7 separate regions of the Homo sapiens genome follow, and all the other regions are linked to region 3. Evidence: promoter capture Hi-C in 16 types of primary human blood cells and fetal thymus (Javierre and others, 2016). All regions are on one chromosome and are shown on one strand. Each heading gives the region's core, a stretch centred on a gene start or on the middle of the fragment in contact. The rest is flanking DNA. Distances are from core to core; before and after follow the strand shown. Region 1 has its middle 80 kb from the start of MTDH. Region 2 holds the start of TP53INP1 (tumor protein p53 inducible nuclear protein 1). Region 3 holds the start of UQCRB (ubiquinol-cytochrome c reductase binding protein). Region 4 holds the start of CCNE2 (cyclin E2). Region 5 holds the start of PLEKHF2 (pleckstrin homology and FYVE domain containing 2). Region 6 has its middle 4.7 kb from the start of INTS8. Region 7 holds the start of NDUFAF6 (NADH:ubiquinone oxidoreductase complex assembly factor 6).

Region 1 (3,196 bases), core at 663-3,162, 1.3 Mb after region 3:
TGAGCTTCTGAAACATAGAACCCAAGAATACCCTTCTTTCTTTGTCCCTCTGTTTTCTCTGTCACCTTTCTCTAAGGCAGTGAACACAGAATGCCATACTCACTGAATGCATAAAGGAACCAGGGGTATAAGGAAGTTCCAGGAACAACAACAAATTAGATTTCGGCCAGTGGCAGCTTGGTGGCTCACACCTGTAATCCTAGCACTTTGGGAGGCTGAGGCAAGCAGATCACTTGAGCCCAGGAGTTCGAGACCACCCTGGAAAACATAGTGAAACCCCATCTCTACAAAAAAATACAAAAATTAGCCAGGCATGGTGGCACACACCTGTAGTGCCAGCTACTCAGGAGCTGATGTAGGAGGATCACCTGAGCCTGGGGAGGTTGAGGCTGCAGTGAGCTGTGATCATGCCTCTGCACTCCAGCCTAGGCAACAAGGTGAGACCCTGCCTAGAAAAAGAAAAGAAAAGAGAAAAGTAGATGTTAAAATATCATTCCTCTGCTCTTCATGTGAAATCTTACCCAGAAACCCAAAATGTAAAACATAAAAACCAGAGTATGGTTAAGGGGTGGAAAGAATGGGAGATGAGAGGACCCCAGGGCCCTCCCCCAGAGGCCTGAGAGAAGTCTGCCAAGGAAAGTTTGAAAACTCACCAAACTGGGAAATCTCTGCAGTCTCTTCCAGCTTGAAAGTTCTACAATTCAGTGTTAAGGAGCAAACACTTGGCCTAATTCCCAAACTTGAGAATAGTCACGCATACTAAGTGTGACAGGTGAAGTAAATGATGATTAATGTGGGTGTGTTGCAGGCTTTTTTTTGACCCTGATCCTACTCCTTGGCCTGCTTCAGGCCCTTCAGCTTCCCCACCCTCCAAGCAGGGTTTTTTCTGTGTGTGTGATAAGGAATCAGTATGGAAAGATGAGAAACACAAGAGTCGCCCGGTCAAAAATTAAGCAGAAAAATAATGCATGACAGCAAATCCATACCCACATAAATACCAAAAAGAACTGGAAACAGGGACTCAAACAAACACTTGTACACACATGTTTATAGCAGCACTATCCATGATAGCCAAAAACAAGAAACAACCCAAAAGCCCATCTACAGATGAGTGGATAAACAAACTGTGGTATTTTACATACCGTGGAATATTATTCAGTCATCAAAAGGAAGGAAGTGCTGATACATGCTGGATGAGCCTCAAAAACATTAAGCTGCTTGAAAGAAACAAGACACAAAAGGCCACATATCGTATGGTTCCATTTATAGGAAGTGTCCAGAATAGTTAAATCCAAAGAGAGAGGTGGCAAATTGTTGGTTGCCAGGGGCTCAGGGAGGGGAGAATGAGGAGTAACTGCTTAATGGGCATGGGGTTGTATTTGGGGAGAATAAAATGTTTCAGAACTAGATAGAGGTGATGGTTCTACAATATTAAGAATGTGTTAAATGACACTGAATTTTTCACTTTAAAATGGTTAATTTTAGGTTTTGTGAATTTTATCTCAATTTTTTAAAAATCAGTTGAGCAAAAAGAAAAAGAAGAGATGGCACCAGGGAATGTTTGCAGAGAGAGTGTTTGAGGGCAGTGGCTGTGGAAAGAGCAACTGCAGGTATGAGTGGAGTGGAAGGGGAGGGCACTGTGGGAGATGTTCTGCCCTCTCCCCACGCTGAAGTGCAGGTAAAGAACTCCAGCACTGGCGTGGTTTGGAGCAGAAGCTCTGGAACCAGACTGCCTGGTTTTAAATCCCCATCCTATTACTTATTAACAGTAACCTTCGGCAAGTTGCTTAACCTCTCCATACCTTGTTTCTTCATTTGTAACATGGAGATAATAATAATACATAACTAAGGATTGTTTAAAAGGGTTAAATAAATTCTTTCATATAAATCACTTGGGATAGTGTAGACCATCTCCTCAATATTCGCTTCAGCCTTCAGTGAATGTTACCCAGTGTTCTTTTCTCATGTGGTTTCATAGGTCTTCCTCTTTGACTAGACCATTCCAGAATTGAACCATGTCCACTGTCCACTGTGCTTTGTAAATCTTCTATCAGTGTTTCCCTATTCTGCAGAATGGTTTTTGAGACAGGGTCCCACTCTGTCACCAAGGCTAGAGTACAGTGGCACAGTCACAGCTCACTGCAGCCTCCACCTCCTGGTCTCAGGTGATCCTCCCACCTAAACCTCCTGAGTATCTGAGACTACAGTTGCCTGCCACCACACCCTGTGAATTTTTGTAATTTTTAGAGACGGGGTTTCGCCGCATTGCCCAGGCTGGTCTTGAACTCTGGCACTCAAGCAATCTGCCTGCCTCAGCCTCCCAAAGTGCTAGAATTACAGGCTTGAGCCACTGTACCCAGACTGCAGGTGTTTTAATACAAACTTTGAAATAAGTATAAATAATATCCTTTTCAAGGAAAGCTGCCTTTACATCTCAGGTTCTAAAGAACTAAATCCCCTAGTTTCTTTGACTGCCATAACAAAGTACCACAAACTTGGCTTAGAACAACAGAAATTTCTTCTGCCCCAGTACTTGGGGCTAGAAGTCTGGCTACAGCCACCAGGCTCTTTCCCAGCTGTCACCCAAGGCGTCAGCAGGGTCATGCTCCCTCCAAGCCTCTCGTGGAAAGCCCTTTCTAGTCTCTTCCAGTTTCTGGCAGCCTCCCGGCCTTCCTTGGCTTGTGGCAGCAGAATGTTTGCCTCTGTCCTCACATGGCTGTTATTCTGTCCTCACATGGCCGGGACAGGGGTGCGGCGCAGAGAGCCCCACGTCCTGGGAAACGGGGTGCTGCTGGAAAGGCAGCTGCACCCTCAACCCTCACGTGGGGAACCTGACGCTAAACCATTCGTAGCCCACCTGCTTCTGGGTAGGGGTTTCATACGTAGCAGAGCAGCTACCTGCTGAGATCTATTGAAAGTCAGCCCTTGACACAAGGGTTTGTAAAAGGAAAAATAAATAAATAAATAAATATATAAATAAATAAATAAAATGAAATAAATGAAAAAAGAAAAAAGACTTCAACGAATCTCCTAGGGGACACAATTCAACTCGTAAACTTCCCAATCCCTATAGCTCTCCTAATGCATTCATAAGCTCCACCGCCACACTTCTATGGGCTTCCCAGACTAACCAGCTGCTGGAACAATCTTTTGTTTGGCTTTGTTTTGTTTTTTAGATACAGGTTCTCACTCTATG
Region 2 (3,301 bases), core at 94-2,593, 1.3 Mb before region 3:
CCCTTTTCCCAAAACTATTGTGCATTGAGAAAAGGCTTTTTTAGCAATAGATGCCCAAGTCCTTGGGAGTCACAGTTGTAAAGAGGCTCTTCCTTAATCCACTCTGTATTGGAATTAACCTACTGAGCAGATATAATCAGAAAATACAAGCAAAACAGACTCTCCAGGTAAAATTCAGCTGCCACTTTGAAATACAAACACCATTTCCTTTTATTAATTGGCTGTGTGGCCTTGAGCAACTTAATCTCTCTGTGCCTCGGGTTTCCTATGTGTAAGATAGCCGGGCCTATTTCATATAAGGTTATTATGAGAATCAACTGGGGCGATAAAGCAAAGCCCCCAGCATAGTATATGGCACATACTCAGCGCTCAGTAAGCGTGAGCGATCCAAAGGATCTAAATGTTAAGGGCCAAGGAGAGCGCTCTTTCCACAGGTGCAAAGTCAGGTAGCGAAGACTGAGTTCAAGCCAGGTCAAGCAAGGGACAGGCCGCGGACAGGCGGGGGCCGGTGGCCGGGTCACGGAGCAGGTTCCCCATAGCCGCAGGGCCTCCGGAACTCGGAGGGCAGGCGCAGGGGACGGGATCGCAGGGCGGGGACAGAGCGCCGGGCCACAAGCCCAAGCGCCGCTGTCTTCGGAGATGCGTCCCGGGGGTGGCCGCGGGAGCCCCGACGCCGAGTCCCGAAGGGGCGGCCCCATCCAACGGCCGAGAGCAGGCGGAGGAGGAGGAGTGGAGGGGAGTGAGGAGGGGTGAGAGGAGGAGGTCCCGCCGCGGCCAAGAAAACAAGCCACGCTCGGGGGAGGAGGCAGAGACCAAACTCCCAACCGCCGCCCAGCGCCGGGGCCAGGCCGGGCCCTTGTCCGCGCCGCCGCCGCCTCTGTCAGCCTCTGTCCGCGCCCTGGGCCCCGGGGGCCGCCGAGGACCGACCCACTGGGTGGGCGGCCGGGCCCGGCGGCGGCGAGGGGAGGCAGCGAGGGGGCTCGGTGAACGCGCAACCGGCGCCCCGAAGGCAGGGCGCGCGGCCGGCCCCGCCGGGCTCAGGAGCGGGCAGCGCTGCGGCCCCAACCGGCAGCGAGGCGGCCCTGGACGGACGCCCGCCCGCCCCCCCCCGGCACTTACGTGGGCCCGGGCCGTGCGGGGCTGCGCGGGGAAGGGAGCGGCCGCCGGCTCGGCGGGGAAGGACGCGGGCGGGGCGGGACTGCTGAGGTAGCTGCGGTGGGGCCGGGCTGCGCTGCACCTCGTTCAGGTACCCAGACGGCAGGCGCGGGGCCGGCTCCAGCCCTCGGGTCGCTGCGCCCAGGCCGGCCAGTCCAAGTCCTTTTGTTGTTGTGCAGCGCTCGCAACAGCTGATCGGCCGCTCCGCTCGCCGTCGGGCCCCGCTGCCCCGCCCCGGGCCGCGCCAGGCCGGGCCCCACCAATCGGCGGTGCGGGGGCCCCGGGGCCGCCCTGCGAGAGGTTGTCACCAACGCACGTGACCTGGCGCCCGGCCGGCGGCGCGCTCAGCTCCGAAACAAGCCCGGGCAACAAAAACCGGGAGCTGAGCGTGAAGGCCTGGGCGAGCGGAAGGGTGGGAGAGAGGGGCTAGGCCGGGGAGGGAAGCGCTGGGGCCGGGGCCGGCTTTCCAGGAGCCGGCGGGAGCGGGGTGCGTAAGAGGCGGGCGAGGAAGAACCGGCGGGCAACGGGAAGGGCAGAGGTGGATCTCTCCCTCAGCGACCCCTCTCGCCGAGTGAAGGGTCGAGGGTTTGGGGCACAAAGGGCGCAGAACGTTTTTTCCTGTGAGAGGAACATTAAGACTCCTGGGAGGGCTGGGGCTAACGCCTCCGAGAGCCCCACCTGGTCAGCCTAGGGTTAGACGTGTAGCCAGGGTGCTGGGAGGGGGCCGCTGCTGGGCCCCAGATAGAGGGGTAGAGGCCGCTCAATCACGGAGCCAGGCCCCACCTGCTGTAGAAACCGCCACCGAGAGCCGGCCGGGCTTGCTGCACGCTCTGGATTCCGCCTGCCTATAGGCGAGGCACAAGGGACTGCGAGACCAGGCCTGAAGGCAGAGAGGTCAGCAGGCTCGGGGGCCTCTGCTCCAGCGGACAACAAGCGCACCGGGCGGGAACGGCCGCCTCCCCAGGCGCTGCAGCCTAGCTCTCATGTGACCCACGGAACTTAGCCCCTCTGTTCTGTTTGCATACCTGCAAATTGTGGGCATTCACGCCGGGACTGCCAACTCACCAGGTTATTTATAGTGACAAGAGAGTGAGACAGTGGGCTTGAAAGTGTTTTCCAGACCAAGGCTCTGTCCCACATATAGGTGGATTAACTGTCTGGCAAAGGCAGGTGAGTAACGTTGATGCCTATCAGCTCTCATGTGGATACTGTTTGGACTGGGATGTAGTTCTTTGACCTGGGGTGAGCTGTATAGCAACCCTGGAGGGATGCCTATCACACATTACAGTATCTGAAAGACACTCACATTCTGACCCTCACAATGTAGTCAGTCCATTTCCAACAATGCTGGTTTTAAAGGATGTAAATTGCAGTGCAGGGAGTTGTCAGACACCAAGGAGTAATGATCAAAATATGATGGTCATTGGACCTTATCTTGGGAGAAAGAGCTAAAACTGTGTTCTAGATAGTCTCACAGACTTGAACATGCTTTGGATTTTAGGTTTTTGCAAATCAGGCTTGTTCTAATATTTTCTCCCACATGCTATGGTAGGAGCCCCATGATCTCTTGTTTCTCCCTAGGAATCCATTGAAGAGGCCATCTCCACATTCAGAACCAAGGTATGATGACAATTACAAGGGGCTAATTTTTAAAAAGAAAAAGGCCTACCTTTTTCCAGTTTGATAAGGTTTATCATGGTTAAAGCAACATGTGAAATCATCATCTTGTTATGATAGAAAAATTCAATATGAAGTAGATCATTTTTCCAAAGATGACCACAACAGTATCTCCATCATGAAGTGGGTGTATTTTTCTTCCCTTTGAATCTGGGCTGACCCTGTGATTGCTCTGACCAATAGAATGTGGCAGAAAGAATGTTCTAGGACTTCCAAGCCTCGTCATTAAGCAAAAGCATTAAGCAAACCCCACAGCTTCTGCTTTGTACTCTGGAAAATGCCAGCCACCCATGAGGAGAGACCACCCTGCTAGCCACAGGGAGAGGCTATGTGAAAAGAAAGAGATGCCTGGCCAGCTCTAGCTCTTCAGCTCATCCCAGCTGAGCTACCAGACACATGAGTGGAAAAGCCCTTAGGAAGTTCCAGCTCCAGCAGACACCATACTGAACAGAGGAGAGATAAGCCATCC
Region 3 (3,336 bases), core at 649-3,148:
CACAGGAAATAATTGTAAACTTTTCATTTCAAGAGAGCTGGAGTTGTAGGGAAAAGACAGTGAGATTTCAGCATAGACTGGCAGGTCTAAATGACCCTCATCCTCTAAAATTTTTACTCGATATTACAGTTATTTCATTTGGCCACATTCTTTAAAAATGTATGTATTTTGGGGAGGATTTTGATACCATTAGTCATTTAAACATTAATATGGATTCGTAAAAGAAGTCCATTTACCTCCTCCTAAGCAACTAAGTTCCCCCCAAGGGAATGGATATTGAAAAAGGATGAGAAATAGGTAATTTTAAAACTGTTTGGGGAACAGGGCTGAGCCTGATGAAGTAACCCAGCAGGGTCCAAGTACAGCAGGACCGTATCTGACATTTTAGGAGAGACATTTTACAAAAGGAGAGGTAGAACAGGTTTGTATTCTCTTTTAAAATTTTGTCTAGGGTTAGCCCTTACCAAGGAAGGAAAGCAAACTCTCCTTTCACTCAACTCTCCTTGCTTGCAAACTCAGTGCACTACAGATTACGTGGCTTTAGCAAATCTCCTTGGAAATTAAGAGTCATGTATAAAACTGCTGCTAGAAAAACAAGTATCAGTCAACAATCTACAAACATACTTGTGGAAGACAGATTATATTCAACCACCTATCAGTGACTATAATAATATTCACTAAGCACTTATTGTGCACCAAACACTTTCCTATTTGCTTTACCAACATTAGCTGATTTATTTACATGTCTGTTACTACAGAAGGGGAAGCTGGCTTACAGAAGTGATCCCACCCAAGGTCAGAGTTAGCTAATGGGAGTTGAGATCTGGTCTATGTAGTTCCCAAACACGCACAGAAGCAGTGTCTTGAATTTAGTAAGACTCCTTCAATATCTGCCAAATTAATAAAATAATTATTTAAAAAGTCTCCCCCACCCCCAAAAAGCTCAATGTCAATTAGGTTAACGGATGTTTCTGGCAACCTGATGTTTCCTAACAGCTTCACAATTGCTGGGGGCGGGGAGAAAAGGATCAACATTTTTTAAGCTACTCCAACTTGGTTGCATTGCAGTGAGACGAGATTGTGCCATTGCACTCCAGCCTGGGCGACAAAGCAAGACTCCGTCTCAAAGACAAAACAAACAAACAAACAAAACGGCTACTCCAACTTGTACCGCCAGAGGGCAGAGATTAGCAAAAAAAAAAAAAAAGAAAGAAAAAAGAAAAAAAGAACCTACAATAAATTCAAATTTCTCCAAACCTACTGATCAAGCTGACGCTCTAGATAATCCAAGGTCAACCTGAAGCGTCGCTCGTATCCCTTGCTCAACTGTCTCTGATTCGCAGTTTGAGAAGCGCGAGGGGTGCAATGATATTTCCAATTCTACTTCCTTGGGTCACTTTGCCTCAGTTATCTTATCAGCGTAAAAGGGAAATTAATATCTCCCTCGTCGCAATGGCAAGAAAATTTATAGGGCCAATGCACACGATAGAGCACTTGGGTCATAGAAAGCACTGAGCTCATTCGGGTTGAAAGTCATCCACTAGTTATCCTCTTGTGCCCTTTAACTTTTCTAAGGCCAAGGGGAAGGACTTCCAAGCACGGGCAGCTGGAACTCCAGGGCTGTCAGAGCCACCGCGGGCACCTTCACAAACAGCGGGTTAACATCCCAACCCTATACAGGCAAGCCCGCCCTGGGGACAGCAAACGAGTGGGGAAGCACATCCTTTTCACTGGACTGAAGCAGCCAATTTCCCTTCCGCGACAAACTTGGCCACTTACAAAGAAGAGAGAAAACGGAGCAAGCTGCAGCAAAAATAAACGGTGAAGCGCGACGATGCCGGCCAAGAAGACCCCCAGTTACTTACCGGCCTGCTTACCAGCCATTTTGACCAGAAAGAGAAGCGTTGCCTTCTGGGTAAGTCATAGAGGACAAGCTGGGCCCAGTCCGCAGGCGCGTTACGTCACATCGCGAACAGAGAAAGGCCGCTTGCGCAGGCGCAGTTCTGACGACTGCCGTTCAGCACCTGCGTAAGCACCTCTCGGCCAGGGTGAGGCCAATGGAGTAGGCGGGGCATTTTGCGTGCTACATTCTAAGAAGTATTGGTTGTGATGTGATGGGAAGAACACAGGTCAGGAATTAGGAGACCAAGGCTTAAAGCTGGGTTCTGTTATTTGCTGTTAATAGCTATGGGAGCGTGGACAGTATTAATTCAGCTCTTTGTGCCAGGCAGGAAGCTAAATGTTTTAAGGGCATCGTCTTACTTTCTATTGAAGGACTGATGGATGTGCCATCCCAAAAATATATGGAATTGGTACATTGATTATTTCGAGTTGAAAATATTGGAGAAATTGTAGTTTCAGAAAAGGTTTGATGACCTATCTCTTCCTGCATGCAGCAAGCCATAAAGCTTCCTCCAGGATTCCTCTGGAGTACCCGTCCCTTACCAGAGGGAGAAAATAGCACCTATCACCAGAGACGAAACTGGGGGCTGCTTTGGACCTGAATATACTTTCCGAAGTAACCGTTATCTTCCACTAAGTTTACACCCCAACACACACACTTTTCTCCTAATGACTCCGCGAGAAATTTACTGCCCCTAGCCAGATCCCCTTTCTTCTGATTTGTAGTTCGTGTAAAAAGTATAAAGGCATCTTACATTGGCCACTTCACTCTTTTGTGCGGATCCCCATGTACATGTAAAACTAGTAAAATTAGTATGCTTTTCTCTTGTTAATCTGCCATGTGTCAATTTGGTTCCTAGATTCAACCAAAGAGCCCACATAAGAGCAAAGGGGAGGGAGGGTTGGAGGTGATCTCTCACTCCCCTAAACTATCTTTTAATTCTAAAAGTACTGTAATTATCTCATTGTAGAGAGGAGAAAGCTGAGGCTCAGAAAGGTTGAATAACTTGTCCAAGAGCACATGACTAGAAGAGTCCAGGTTCTTCTTCCAGAATCTGAAAATCCAGATGCAAATTTGGGGCTCCTTAATTCTAGGGTCATATGCTATACTGCTACACTACTAATCCAGGAAAGACACCAAGCCTTTCAGGCCTTGGGTTTCTCCAGCTGAAGATCTATATCTAGCTATTTTAGTGGAAGGTTAGGTCAGAAAAGGTTTTGGGTTTTTTTTGTTTGTTTTTTTTCACCCTTTTTTTTGTTGTTCAGCCTCTGTCACCCAGGCTGAATGGCACAATCTCGGCTCACTGCAACCTCTGCCTCCTGGGTTCAAATGACTCGTGCCTCAGCCTCCTGAGTAGCTGGGACTACAGGTGTACACACTACCATGCCCGCTAATTTTTGTATTTTTAGTAGAGACGGGGTTTCACCGTGTTG
Region 4 (3,354 bases), core at 449-2,948, 1.3 Mb before region 3:
GTACCAAAGGGCTGCGTGCCAGGCTGTCAGTGATCTCACATCCTATTTATGCCCAAGAAGCAGCTATTAGGACCGTCTACTAGAGTCTGCGAGGGAACAAAGAGCAGTATATTGGACAGATTAGGCGGGCCCTGGTGCACCAGGCAGTTCCAAGAGGGAGGGATTTACAAAAAGGAACCAGCTGCTTGAAGGCACTTATTCTGCAGCTGTAGTAGGATTCGGGCACATAGAAACCACCCAAAGATAGGCGCCTTCCTGCTGACCTCTAGGGGCATTAAAAGTAAAAGTGTCAGAGGAATCTATCGCAAAGCAATAAACACATAATTCTATTCTTATTCATCTATCCTCCATTTTTCCCCCAAACCCACCCAGCCCAGTTCTGCATTACCCTAATTTCATACTGATGTTTCTTGGTGACCTCCTCTCTTCTTTTTTTGACATCCTGGAAAATAGAAAAGACCATTGGTAAACTAAAGTCCCAGCATGGAATTTCGTTCCTCCCTCTTTCTCCTTAAATCACCTGGGTAGTTTTCCTCTTCTTGGCCTGGATTATCTGGGCTTCTTGGGGGGATTCCGTCTGGCTGGGCTGGGGCTGCTGCTTAGCTTGTAAACGGCTACTGTAGTGAATTTTTAAAAAGGAAGTGTAATTAGTAAGTTAAAGGCAGCAACTAATTTGAAACATGTCTCTAAGACAGATAATGTTACCTTCGTCTTGACATTCTCTTCTTTCAGGTGTATAAAACCTCTGAAGGGGGGAGAGGAAAAGCCGCAGTCAAGTACATTGTCATTCACATTCTCCAAGTGCCAGTAAGACGCTGATTCGCAGGTGAAAGCTCAGTCCCTCCGAAGGGGGCCTGGGCCCTGTGACCCTGCCATCTTCTGTGCTATGTTAGCTAGCTCATGGTAATTCATTTTGGATACAAGCCTGCATTTCCTCAACTGAATGTACAGCTGGAACGCGAGTGTCCAAAAATTTACCAAGCACTCCTGACACCTTGAACGCGCAGGGAGGCACATCTTCCTCAAACGGGTTTTTCTGGGTCCTCCACCCTCTCCCCCGTACACCGGGAGTGGGGCTTGGGCAGCGCCCCCACGTCCCGCCTCCCTCCTGGACCAGCGGGGAGAGGGGGTTGTGGAGGCGAAATGCTGTGGAGAAGCCGGTTCCGCGCCAATTTGGAGAGCGGCGGTGGCGGGGAAGCAGGGGGCGGAGGAACCAAGACTGGTGTCACGGCCTCCAGTCTCCTTTCCCTCCTTCCCGGCCCTGCCGCCCTACCGCCGCTCGGAGGGGCGCCGGGACCCCAACTCCAGATGGGAAGCGGAGGGCGTGGGGGAGGGCAGGAAAAGGAGCTAAAGAAAGGGGAGACTGGGCTGGCTGGGAACTTTTCTCCCCATGGAGGGGACCCGGCCTCCCATCCTCTCTCCCACGGGATAGCTCCCCAAATGAGGGTGGGATAGAGAAGCCCCTAGAATGAGGGGCGGCTCTCCATGCCCAGCCGCTTCCCGGTCCCCTGCCAAGGTTCCTGACAGGGACGGAACGCGGGAACCCATGACCCCCAGTCGTCTAGTTCTCAGCCCTCCCGATTTTCCTCCCTGAGGCTCCCGCCTGTGGTAAGTGATCGGCCCAACTGGGCTTTCTTTCCTCCCACATCCCCCCTACGCGCAGCAACTCCTCACCGCCAGACCAGCTACCGCTCGGCTCAGCTGGCGCCGGCGCCAACCCAATATATAGGCCGGGCCGGTCCCGCCCCGCACGCATGCGCCTCAGACTGACACCTCCGGACAGCGCGCTCCCCTCTCCCGCCCGTCCGCCCGCGTGCCCGCGCGCCGCGCCCTGCTCTCAGTGCGCGCCCGCCACCCGGAGCGGCCGTGGGGTCCACTCTACCGGGCCTTCTGCCCGCGTCCACCGCGCTCCACGGCGCGGCCGGCGGCGGTAGGGAAACTCTCAGGGGCTCCTTCTCCGCGGCTGTTCTCCCCGCCGCCTGGCTCGCGCATCTCCCGCCAGTTTGCTTTTGCTTCCTCCCACTGCAACTCCTGGATTTCGGGGGTGTCAGCCTGCGGCTCAGCCCGGGCGCATAACAGGGGGACACGACTCGGGCGACCATAGGGTGGCTGGGAAGTGACCGTCCAGGGGCGCGCCCTAGCTGTCCCGCCAAGGCCTCAGGGAACCCAGGTCTTTCCTGAGCGACGCGGGGACCCGAGGGCCCGCCCCTCGGGGAGGAGCAAAGCGTTGGCTGAAGAGCTGGCCAATGGGAGGCACGGGCGGCAGCACAACGTGGAGTGGCTGCAGAATGTAAACACCACTCAGCCACGCGCCTGGCCAAGTGCGGCTCTGCTCTCCCCAGTCCCGGTCCGCGACCACCCGGAGCCCGCTCCGCCGGCCTTGCGCGGCGCGCCCAGGGAAGGCATTTCCAGCCCGCCCACCCAGGTATGTATCAACCCTGCTTTCCGGCTCCCTGCTCCCCCTACCGGGTTTCCCTCCCCATGGGTCGGTCGCTCCCCCAACCCGCCGCTCTGCCCCTGCAGTGGCCTCCAGCTGCCACCCCGCAGTCCCCGCGCAGGAAACGCTCGCGCCACGCCGCGCCCTCCCTTGCTTCCTCTCTTCTCCACCTCCAATTCCGGGATCCCAGAGGGTAAAACCCCTCTCCGGAGCGGGGCCCGGGAACGGCATTCCTCCTCCCCCTGAGCGCGGTGGTCCCCGGGGACCTGGCCGGGTGGGAAGAAAGATCGCCACCACGTGCAGGCCCCGGGCCCGCCTGCCGCGCCCCGCCCCGCCGCCGCCGCCAGCGCGCCCTGCGGAGCCCGCGCGAGCCGGCAGCGCGGGAGGGCGCCGTTCGCGCCCGAGCGCTGTTGGGAGGAGGGGGGCCCGACGCTCTTCCTTTATCCTTCCCCGGGTGTTTAAACTTAGGGGTCCCTTCGCTGCCTCTATGAATGCCCCCACAACTGGCGCACCCCAAAACTGCACATCGTCAAGTCAGACTTGCGGCGGGTATTCCGCAAACAGGTTTTGCGGCGGGAGCAGCGAGGCGGGGAACAGCTCCGGGAACAAAGATCCCCCGGGTGGAGGAGCAGTGCGAAGGCGTCTCGGAACCCGCGGTAGCTCGGGCGGGCCGCGTCTGCCCAGGCCCTGAGCGAGCCGGACGGCGAGCGGGCCGCGCCGGGGAGACGGAGCCTCGCGGGCGGGAGCCCTTCCCGAGATGCACCGGGAGGCGGCGCCCGGCGACCCCCGCTCCCGCCCGGCCTTTTGTGCTGCGCCGCTCGAGCGCGCTTGAGGCCCGGGAAATAGCCGCCGCCGGATGGGCGCTTTGGGGCGGGCGAAGTCCTTTTTCACACTTTTTCGATTCTTCGTCTCGTGAC
Region 5 (3,457 bases), core at 283-2,782, 1.1 Mb before region 3:
CCAAAGTTATCTTTGGATGTGCCAAGGTTGTTAGAGACAAAGCCAATGTTTGATTACAGTCATTCTGGCTTCTATCTATGCACTTTACTTAAGCTAAATAAGTACATGGGAAGTGAGGAGGGCAAACATTTTTACTAATGTGAGTGACCAAAAATATTTGATAACTAATGCTCTAGGCTTGACCTTAGACAACCAGTCAGACATAGCAATTCCTACTTTCAAAATTTAAAAGGATTTTAGGCATTATTTAGTCCTGCCTTTTCCCCACTGATAGATATTGCTGTGCACGTAGAGGTGAATGAGGTAGAGTGATGGTACGGACAAGCGTCCTGGTGACATCTGTACTCATCTAGAGACAACTCTAACACACGAAAGATTGTGTGTGTGTGATCATACAATTTTCCCCATTTAAAAAAAGTTCATCTTTGCCAATTTTGTTCTAATTATTAATTTAAAAAAAGACTTGTTTGTTTCAGAGACAAACTCTATTGAAATAGGGGAGGATAGGAGGCAACAAGCCTGGAGGAGGAAGATCCCAGGTGGAAGAGCAGGGCGGAACCCAAGTCTGCTCTCATCCCTAGGTGCTCATCCACGTGCAGCTTGGCTGGTAGTGACTCTAATTCAACAGCAATCAAACACAGGTTAAAACAACTTACTGAAGTAATAGATGAATAAGAAATATAAAATTTACCAAAACCCAATTTCCTCCTACACACCACACACACTTTGTTTAAAATAAGTATGCTGTTCTCCCTACTTCGCCCCCATCCCTAGTCTACCCTAAGCAACTTCGTTACCTCTCTACGAACCCATCAGAGCGCTTAGCTATCAGATCAATTAGGGCACATTTAACCTTATATACTATGCAATAATTACAGTTTCTAGGTATGTGAAGTAGGCTGATGGGGTTTTGTGTCGTCAAAGTTTTGGGAAGACCAGAATTCTAAAGTATGCATTTAAAAGAAAGGGCTGGGTGGAGCACGTAGGGTATGTGTGTGTCGCCGCAGTTCCCTTGGTTTCAAGAGGAGGGATTTTAGGTAAAGCAAAGGGAAAGTGTGACGGAAAGGATTGCTGTGCTAAATGGGAGCAGCAAATGCCAGTACCGATGCCTTTGGGCATTTAGATCCAAAGCCTGCCTTTCTCGTTCTTCAGTTCCCCGGGGAGGCCTGTTGTGGGTGGGGAGGTGTCTTCCTTCTATTATTCCAGTCTCCCTAAGAACTTCGTAGACAGTTGAGCAATACTTTCTAAGGGCTGGTCGGAGTCAGGAAAGTCAGGTAAGGCGCCTCACGTGCACCTCAACGCGTCGCGGGAGCGCGTCCCGACCTCACACATGGACAAGCTCCGCCCGCGGCCGGCCTGAGTGGGTGTGGCCTCCGCCAAAGGCCCCGCCCCTAGAGCGCGTCGCGAGGGGCGCGAGGGGCGGGGCGAGGGAACTGGCAAGAAAGGGCGGGGAGCGAGGGGTGTGGGTGTGCTCGTGCCCGCGCGCTCGCGCCCGGAGTGTGGACGGGGGCGCGCCCGTGCGCGCGCAGGGGAGAGGCCAGCCCAGGCAGCCGTTGTCGGGTTCGACTGGAGGGGCGGGGGAGTCACCTGCGAGCGGCTGCGCTGGCGGCCAGCCCGCCCACCGCGTCTGGATCGCGCCGGCTGCGCGGGGCTGCGGACAGCACACACCCTGGAAGGCCCCGGCGGGGAACGGGCAGAGTCCGCGCCCTGCGTCCGCGACCAGGAGGATCGGACCTTCGCCTTCGCTGTCGCCGCCGCCGCCGCCCGCGGCCGTCGGGGTAGGTGAAGCCCGGGTGGGTGGTCCGCCGGCTCCTGACGGGCCGGGAGGGGAGACGCGAAACTTTCCGGGCGCTTCCTCCCGCGGTCCCGGAGCCGTCGCAGCGCCGGGAGGTGTCGTCGTCGCGGGCGGTGGCGGCCGACGCCATGTTGGGGTCTGTGAGAAACGGGGCGCTCCCGGCCGCTCCCCTCGCGCCGGGGCCGGCCCGCGGGCCAGTTGCCGCCGCCGTCCCGCCAGCCCGGGAGCGAGCCGCGCCCGCCCGTAGGACGCCGCCGCCGCCGCGGGGGGACGGGGGCCGCCGGGTAGGGTCCGGTCCACGGGTCTGCGGGGCGGGGGCCGGCGGACGCGGGAAGGAGCCCCGAGGCCGGGCGAGAAGTTGTGGGGCCTGAGGACGGGGGTCCTGGACACGGCCGGGGGCGTCTCAGGGTCGCGACAAATTTCTGGCCGAAAAGTTTGCAGGGTCTGCGTGTCGGGGACCTTATGACCTGAACTACATATTTGTATGTCACTTGGGAGACGAAAATGGCCCCGCAGAACTTGCTCTGATAGAAGCGATGGTTTATTTATTTGGAGCCTTTTCAAGTTTTATGATCCTTTGACGAATTTATTTTTCTTTTTAAAAATGTGATTGAAGGCCGAGAGCGCGCTGCCGGTGTTGCTTGAATAGCCTTGTGTGCTCTCCGTACATTCCAGCAATAACTTGAGTGTGCGGTGGAAGTGGGTATGAAGGTTACAGACACCTAAGCCCTCCTCGGTAATTCATAGACTCACAAAACGCGTTGTTGATAAATGCCTTCTTTGTCGTGTTGTGTAGTACGTTGCTGAAGAGACTCATTAAAGAAAGATTTAGACAGAAACTTTGAGAGTCTTAAAGGCATGTGTTCTCTTAAGAATAAGAAGTGATCTTGACAGTTTGAAGTTTTTTTCCCCTCCCTTTAGTTTCTTAAGGGTGAATGCCTACCGCGTTTTGAGCATTTACTTTTTTTAAATACTCTGGCAGCTCGTGGGGTCTTCACGTTAATTCAGTATTAACGAAGGCTTCATTATAATCTCTTTGGGTCCCGACCACACGGGGAATGAATGGTATTAAGCTATTTATTTGGAAAGCACACGTAATCGGCCTCTAAATAAAACTAGTATAGTGACTAAGCTTCAGAAGAAAATATTCAGCCTCAGTAAATGAATCTAAATGATTTTTAAATAAAGACATCTTGCTTTAAAATTCTGTTAAATGAACTGAAAAGGCTCTTAAACACAAATACAGTAAGCCCTAAAACCCCAAATTCTTGGAGAATTTTACTTTTTAGATCTAAAAATACAGCTTCTGCTCATATTTGATTGTCAATTTCTTTTTCCTTTTTTCTCTTTTTCCTTCCTTCCTTTTCCTTTTCCTAGACAGGGTCTCTGTCTGTCGCCCAGGCTGGAGTGCAGTGGTGTCATCTCCGCTCACTGCAGCCTCAAACTCCCGGGGCCCAGGTGATCCACCTCGGCCTCCTGAGTAGTTAGGACTACAGGAGCGCATCACCACACCTGGCTAATTTTTGTTTGAATTTTGTGGAGAGAAGGTTTTGCCATGTTGCTCAGGCTGTATTGCCAATTTCTGTTGTTCTTAAAAATTCTTTTAGTTTTGCTTCATTGTCAAGTAAATGGCATTATAACATTTTTTATTTAGAAATGAAA
Region 6 (3,180 bases), core at 21-2,520, 1.4 Mb before region 3:
AGAGATACCATCACAAAACAAACAAACAAAAACCAGAACGGGGTGCGGTGGCTCACGTCTGTAATCCCAGCACTTTGGGAGGCTGAGGCGGGTAGATCACCTGAGGTCAGGAGTTCGAGACCAGCCCGGTCGACATAGTGTAACCTGTCTCTACTAAAAATACAAAAATTAGCCAGGCATGGTGGCGTGCCTGTAATCCCAGCTACTCTGGAGGCTGAGGTAGGAGAATCACTTGAACCTGGGAGGTGGAGGTTGCAGCGAGCCAAGAGCGCACCATTGCACTCCAGCCTGGGCAACAGAGCAAGACTCTGTCTCAAAAAAAAAAAATACAGATAAAGTTGAAGTACCTGTGACCCCCCTCCCCCACTCCTTCCCCCCATTCACCTCTCCTCTCCCCTTCTCTAACCCACCCCTGTTCTATCCTCCTTCCCTCTTCTCTTCAGAGCCAAACACAGTAGGATTTTGATGTGCATGCCTCAATAAAATAGTTTCTCAGATTTTTTAGTCTCAGGGCCCTGTTAGACCAAAAAATTATTAAGCACTTAAAAGAGTGTTTGTTTATATTTACCATATTAAAAATTAACACTGAGAAGTTTTAAAAATATTTAATTTATTTAAATTAAAATAAAATAATCATATAAAAATAAAAATAATCCTATTACATGCTGACAAATACAATTTTATATAAAATAACTATTTTCATTTTAAAAACTAGAAGAGTGGCATTGCTCACATAGATGAGTAGTTAAAAAAAGAAGTATTTTATATCTTTTCGGATAATTATGGACTTTCTTCACCAAAACCTGAGAAAGTGGTTGTTTCTTAAAGATTAGCTGCAATTTTAAATCTGAAATCATACCAATTAACTTTTCAAATTCCGTTCCATTACAATTCATCAGTCTGTCTTGAAATTTTTTGTTTTGTTTTGTTTTGAGATGGAGTCTTGCTCTGTCGCCCAGGCTGGAGTACAGTGATGCGATTTCTGCTCACTGCAACCTCTGCCTCCCGGGTTCAAGCTATTCTCCTGCTTCAGACTCCTGAGTAGCTAGGATTACAGGCACCTGCCACCATGCCAGCTAATTTTTGTATTTTTAATAGAGACAGGGTTTGATCACGTTGGCCAGGCTGGTCCAAACTCCTGACCTCGTCATCCTCCCACCTCGGCCTCCCAAAGTGCTGGGATTACAGGCATGAGCCACCGTGCCCAGCTGAAATTTTTTATTTATTTACTTTTAAGAGGCAGGGTCTCGCTCTGTCACCCAGACTGGAGTACAGTGGCATGATCATAGCTCGCTGCAGTCTCCAACTCCTGGTTTCAAGTGATCATCCTGCCCCTGCCTCCCAAAGTGTTGGGATTACAGGCATGAGCCACTGTGCTCGGCTTGTCTTGGAATTTAAATAAATCTTTTAGCCATATATTAGGAAAATATTGATTGATTTGTCAAGTTGTGATGATCATCTGAAAGTTGACACATTTAAATATACATTTGTTAATATCGCCATTGGTGTCATCAGAAAAGTCTTGTCAAGTATTGGGAAGCTGCCAAGTTTACAGTTTTCTAAAATTCTAATTTTACTTAAAAAGTTGAATGTTGGCCAGGAGCGGTGGCTCATGTCTGTAATCCCAGCACTTTGGGAGGCCAAGGTGGGAGGATCACTTGAGGTCAGGAGTTCAAGACCAGTCTGGCCAACATGGTGAAACCCCATCTCTACTAAAAATAGAAAAATTAGCCAGGTGTGGTGGTGGCAGTGCCTGTAATCCCAGCTATTCGGGAGGCTGAGGCAGGAGAATCGCTTGAACCTGAGAGGTGGAGGTTGCAGTGAGCGGTGATAGCACCATTGCACTCCAGCCTGGGCAGCAAGAGCAAAACTCCATCTCAAAAAAAAAAAAAAAAAATTGAATGTTATTATTCGCCACAAATGGTGTTAGTTGTTTTCCATAAAGTGACATGACAGGCTCACTTTGTTCAAGAAAATGTCTGCTAAATACCCAAGTCTGAATGACCACAGTCTGTTCTCATTCTTTCTTTCTTTTCTTTTTTTTTTTTTTTTTGAGACAGGGTCTCACTCTGTCACCCACCTGAGTGCAGTGGTGCAATCTCGGCTCACTGTAGCCTCATCCTCTTGGGCTCAAGCAATCCTCCCACCTCAGTTTCCCACATAGCCAGGACTACAGACGCACACCACCATCCCAGCCTTATTTTTTATTTTGATTTTTTTGTAGAGACAGAAGTCTCACTATGCTGCCCAGATACGTCTTGAATTCCTGGACTCTCCACCTCAGCCTCCCAAAGTGCTGGGATTACAGGCGTGAGCCACTGCACTCGGCCAGTTTCTGTTGTTTTAAACCACAAAGTTTGTGGTAATTTGTTACAGCAGCCACTTGAAACAGATACAATGAGTATGTCACATTTTATTTGTCTATTCACCAGGTTATAGACCTTGGTTTCTACTTTTAGGCTACTGTAGATACTGCTGTTCTAAACATTCAAGTCTTTGTGTGGGTACATTTTCTCCTTTCTCTTGGATACATACCTAGAAGGGGAATTGCTGAGTCATCTGGTAAGCCTATTTTTAACATTTTTTTTTTTTTGAGACAGAGTTTCATTCTTGTCGCCTAAGCTGGAGTGCAATGGCGCGATCTCGGCTCACCGCAACCTCTGCCTCCCGGGTTCAAGCGATTCTCCTGCCTCAGCCTCCTGAGTAGCTGGGATTACAGGCATGTGCCACCAAGCCCAGCTAATTTTGTATTTTTTAGTAGAGATGGGGTTTCTCCATGTTGGTCAGGCTGGTCTCGAACTCCTGACCTCAGGTGATCCGCCCGCCTCGGCCTCCCAAAGTGCTGGGATTACAGGCGTGACCCACCGTGCCCGGCCTATTTTTAACATTTTGAGAAACTGCCAAACTGGTTTCAAAAGTGGCTGTAGCATTTTACATTTGACATGTATGGAGGTTCTAATTTCATATCATCACCAATACTTATTTTTGTCTTTTTGATCATAGCCATTTTAGTGGGTGTGAAGTGGTATTTCACACAGTTTTGTTTTGCTTTATTTATTTATGTATTTATTTGAGACAAAGTCTCGCTCTGTCACCCAGCCCAGAGTGCAGTGGCATAATCATAGCTCACTGCAGCCTGCTTCCCAGGCTCAAGCCATCCTCCCACCTCAGTCTCCCAGG
Region 7 (3,397 bases), core at 22-2,521, 1.2 Mb before region 3:
AGCGCTATTGCGCCCAAAGTGCCAAGGCAGCCCCTGTTGAGAAACAGTGCAAGGTGTTCTGTTCTCATGGTGGATTTGGGGTATAGGGGCGGCGGGGCGTGATTTTGGCAGCTACTTCCTTCACCAGCAGCACCCATCACTTCTTGTAGGTGCTCTGAGGTCGCCTGTGGATGCACGTGGGGGAAGGGGAAGAGCCCAGGAGGGGTCGGACGGACTTGGGCGGGTCTTTCCTGGAACGAAGGCCAAAGAGTCGCGGCGGCGGCCCAGATGCAGAGGACCACAGCGACACCTGGCTCTTCTTTGAGCGGCGTCCAGAGGCTGCCTTCCCGCGACTCAAAGGAGCATAGGGGAACCTGCAGGGGCGTGGCCGGGGCGTAGCTGCGCGCCGACGGCGGGGGGTCGAAGGGCACGCAGTGCCGGCGTCATGGCGGCCTCCGCGCACGGCTCTGTCTGGGGGCCGTTGCGGCTTGGCATCCCCGGCCTGTGCTGCCGCCGGCCGCCTCTGGGTCTGTACGCGCGCATGCGGCGGCTGCCCGGGCCGGAGGTGTCTGGGCGGAGCGTGGCTGCGGCCAGCGGACCGGGCGCCTGGGGCACTGACCACTACTGCCTGGAGCTGCTGCGGTGAGCGAGCACGACCTTCCCTGGCGCGGCGGGAAGCGGGGTCCCGGGGTGGGAGCGGCTGCGCCTCGCGTCTGGCCTGACGTTTGAGCGAGCGGACCGGCGCCTTCCTCGTGCCCCTCTGGGTGTGCGTTCTAGTGGGCGTCGGGTGCGGGTGTGCGGAGGCAGCGGGCCCACAGGAACATTCACATGGGTCACAAAATTATGGCAAAATTCCTTCGACTGCCCACGCTTGTCGCCTTATCTGAACCTTAATTTTAGCCGAATTCAGCGTTTTTGCATGAATAACCTTTGTTATTCACAGAACGTCTATTAGTTTTAACCACAACGGTAGCCAACTTTGAGTTCTTTCTGTGTGCCTGGCATTATGCAAAGCAGATTACGAGTAATTAGTCTTCATTACAAGTTGCGACGGACAAATGTAGACCTATCATTTAAGGTTGTGAGTTATAAAGCATTTAGAACAATTCCTGGCATATAGTAAGGGCACAGTGAGTGGAAGTCATTATTATCTCATTTAACAGACAAGGAAACTGGGTTTTATAGTGATTAGAGAATTTGCCACAGGTTCACAAGAATAGCCTCATAAAGTCAGAGCCCTGAAGTGTTTTGTTTGTCGGGCGTAGTGCTGGGAAGGCCTGGCACTTGGGTGTCGCTCCTTAATCATTTGTGGAGGTGGGTTGGATCAATCAGGTCACCTGGTTCATGCGGCAGGGACCCCTGGGAATCCAGGCCTGACTGCTGAGACCAGTGGCTTAGCCCCTCTGCCCTTCTGCTATGTCTCATTTGAAAGACTGGGGTAAGGTCTTGAAGTACTTGGTCTCAAGGACTTACCAAAAGTACTTGAATGACTAAACTACCTTGAAGTTGATCATGCAAGTAAAACCGTTTTTTTTTTAATTCCATTTTAGAGAAAAGCAGCATAACACAACAAAATGCATGCATTTCAGTGTTTTGTTTATAATCCCTTTTAAAAATTGTGGGCCGGCCGCGGTGGCTACACGCCTGTAATCTCCGCACTTTAGGAGGCTGAGACCGGTGGGTTGTTTGAGCCCAGGTGTCTGAGACCAGTCTGGCCAACATGGCGAAACCCCATCCCTACAAAAAAATAAAAAATTAGTTGGGCGTTGTGTCCCGCGCTTGTGGTCCCGGCTGCTCCAGAGGCTGACGTGGGAGGATCGCTTCAGCCTGGGAGGTGGAGGTTGCAGTGAACCAAGATCGCTCCACTGCACTCTAGCCTGGGCGACAGTCTCAAAAACAACAAAAACAAAAATTATTTATTTCCTACCTTATTTGTTGATTACTTGTAAGAGAAACAAGATAGCAGTAATGGAAATCAGGCATTAAGAATTGTAAAAGCCAAAAAAAATTGTAAAAGCCAAAATTGTGAAAAGATTGCATTATTTTTATATATTTAAGTTGTTATATTTTGATGATAAAAACTTTAAGTTGCCAGAGTATACCACCCAATAGCCGCTAGTGTCATAACTTTGCAGAGATAATCACTTTTAAAAATTTCTTATCTATTTTTCCAGGGATAGTCTGTGGATTTACAAATATTTAAGGCTGGAGGAATGGCTTACACCTGTAATCTCAGCATTTTGGGAAGCCTAGGCAGAAGGGTTGCTTGATGCCAGGAGTTTGAGACCAGCCTGGGCAACATAGCGGGATGCTGTTGCTACAAAAAATAAAAAAATTAGCTGGGCTTGGTGGCACAGCCTGTGGTCCCAGCTACTGCGAGGCTGAGGCGGGAGGATCACTTCACTCCAGGAGGCTGAGGCTGCTATGAGCCGAGTTTGCTCCATTGCACTCCAGCTGGGGCAACAGAGCAAGACCCTGTTTCAAAACAAACAAACAAAAATATTTAAGTACATTATTAGTTATTTTTTACTTCAGTCACATGCTAGTTTTTCTCAAGTATATATACTGTATTTACAAATGGTCAGTTACTTAAACTGTCCATGTTATTTGTGTGGAATGGGGGCTCTTGACTCTAGTGACTTATTTCAAATGCTGAATTTTGCAGGCAGACCTGATTTGAGAGTATTAATCCCAGCTCTATCACTTGGGAAGGTTTCTTTAAGATTCCATGTTGGCTGGGCACCATGGCTCACACCTGTAACCTTAGCACTTTGGGAGGCTGAGGAGGGAGGATTGCTTGAGCCTAAGAGTTCCAGACCAGCCTGGGCAACATAGTGGGACCCCTTCTCTACAAAAAATAAATAAAATTAGCTGGGCATGGTGGTAAGCACCTGTAGTCCCAGCTACTCTGGAGGCTGAGAGAGGAGGATCACTTGAACATGGGAGGTTGAGGCTGCAGTGAGCCAAGATCTTGCCACTGCACTCCAGCCTGGGTGACAAAATGAGACCCTGTCTCAAAAAAAAAAAAAAAAAAAGATTCGGTTTTTTCCTCATTTGTAAATGTTTACTCTTACCTTATAGCCTGGTGTTGTGAGGATTAAATGTGATGATATAGTAAAAAATGCTTAGCAGAGTTCAGACACATGACAAATATAAGTTTAAAAAATAAAAATAAACTTGAAATAGAATTTCTGGCTTCTAATTGTCCATCAATAATCTCTGCAAGATTTGGCCTCTGAAATTATGCAGGGTTGTTTTGGACGTGCATTTTATGCAAGGCCTCTAAATAGCAGGAAAAATAGCAGGCCATAACTTCGGGTTCACCATCCTCGGCTCTCCTAGCAATTTAGGTTTTTGGGAAAATCTCAAACCTAATTTACATAGGCTTCTCCGACTTTGGCTTTGAGGAGGATAAACA

The links. The method cuts DNA at HindIII sites, captures the fragments that hold promoters and counts their contacts. A CHiCAGO score of 5 or more calls a contact.
Region 1: a fragment that was not itself captured here is called in contact with the fragment with the promoter of UQCRB in region 3 in 15 of 17 cell types (M0 macrophages, total B cells, M2 macrophages and 12 more); the score reaches 20.8 in M0 macrophages.
Region 2: the fragment with the promoter of TP53INP1 here is called in contact with the fragment with the promoter of UQCRB in region 3 in 2 of 17 cell types (fetal thymus and total CD4 T cells); the score reaches 10.8 in fetal thymus.
Region 4: a contact is called between the fragment with the promoter of CCNE2 here and the fragment with the promoter of UQCRB in region 3, in 2 of 17 cell types (fetal thymus and neutrophils). The highest score is 7.1, in fetal thymus.
Region 5: the fragment with the promoter of PLEKHF2 here is called in contact with the fragment with the promoter of UQCRB in region 3 in 4 of 17 cell types (non-activated CD4 T cells, activated CD4 T cells, naive CD8 T cells and 1 more); the score reaches 6.6 in non-activated CD4 T cells.
Region 6: a contact is called between a fragment that was not itself captured here and the fragment with the promoter of UQCRB in region 3, in 1 of 17 cell types (fetal thymus). The highest score is 5.4, in fetal thymus.
Region 7: a contact is called between a fragment that was not itself captured here and the fragment with the promoter of UQCRB in region 3, in 3 of 17 cell types (total CD8 T cells, naive CD4 T cells and total CD4 T cells). The highest score is 7.1, in total CD8 T cells.

Annotation. Positions count from the first base shown.
Region 1 is chr8:97,562,769-97,565,964 of GRCh38, forward strand. No RefSeq gene overlaps it. Among named protein-coding and RNA genes, the nearest start is that of MTDH, 80 kb to the right of the region's middle. The HindIII fragment of the contact is 8,862 bases long and covers 1-3,196 here.
Region 2 is chr8:94,948,035-94,951,335 of GRCh38, forward strand. It overlaps TP53INP1 (tumor protein p53 inducible nuclear protein 1), which reads right to left and starts at 1,344. Exons shown (of 4, transcript NM_033285.4): 1 at 1,120-1,344. It also overlaps a transcript of NDUFAF6 not described here. RefSeq lists enhancers at 685-1,313, 1,314-1,943, 1,810-1,979, 2,150-2,199 and silencers at 760-899, 1,120-1,499, 1,580-1,689. The HindIII fragment of the contact is 4,012 bases long and covers 1-3,301 here.
Region 3 is chr8:96,233,647-96,236,982 of GRCh38, forward strand. It overlaps UQCRB (ubiquinol-cytochrome c reductase binding protein), which reads right to left and starts at 1,899. Exons shown (of 4, transcript NM_006294.5): 1 at 1,866-1,899. The coding sequence starts at 1,884. UQCRB-AS1 (UQCRB antisense RNA 1) reads left to right here and starts at 1,647. Exons shown (of 2, transcript NR_183275.1): 1 at 1,647-1,915. RefSeq lists an enhancer at 1,626-1,905. The HindIII fragment of the contact is 3,599 bases long and covers 1-2,406 here.
Region 4 is chr8:94,893,503-94,896,856 of GRCh38, forward strand. CCNE2 (cyclin E2) reads right to left here and starts at 1,699. Exons shown (of 12, transcript NM_057749.3): 1 at 1,675-1,699; 2 at 706-745; 3 at 521-617; 4 at 389-442. The coding sequence starts at 719. It also overlaps a transcript of NDUFAF6 not described here. RefSeq lists an enhancer at 511-1,072 and silencers at 1,689-1,908, 2,289-2,388, 2,519-2,568, 2,739-2,788, 3,069-3,288. The HindIII fragment of the contact is 5,265 bases long and covers 1-3,354 here.
Region 5 is chr8:95,132,253-95,135,709 of GRCh38, forward strand. PLEKHF2 (pleckstrin homology and FYVE domain containing 2) reads left to right here and starts at 1,533. Exons shown (of 2, transcript NM_024613.4): 1 at 1,533-1,778. RefSeq lists silencers at 1,275-1,914, 1,935-2,094. The HindIII fragment of the contact is 9,547 bases long and covers 1-2,925 here.
Region 6 is chr8:94,817,016-94,820,195 of GRCh38, forward strand. No RefSeq gene overlaps it. Among named protein-coding and RNA genes, the nearest start is that of INTS8, 4.7 kb to the right of the region's middle. The HindIII fragment of the contact is 7,350 bases long and covers 1-3,180 here.
Region 7 is chr8:95,024,585-95,027,981 of GRCh38, forward strand. It overlaps NDUFAF6 (NADH:ubiquinone oxidoreductase complex assembly factor 6), which reads left to right and starts at 405. Exons shown (of 9, transcript NM_152416.4): 1 at 405-621. The coding sequence starts at 425. RefSeq lists enhancers at 1-310, 277-571 and a silencer at 327-696. The HindIII fragment of the contact is 5,537 bases long and covers 1-3,397 here.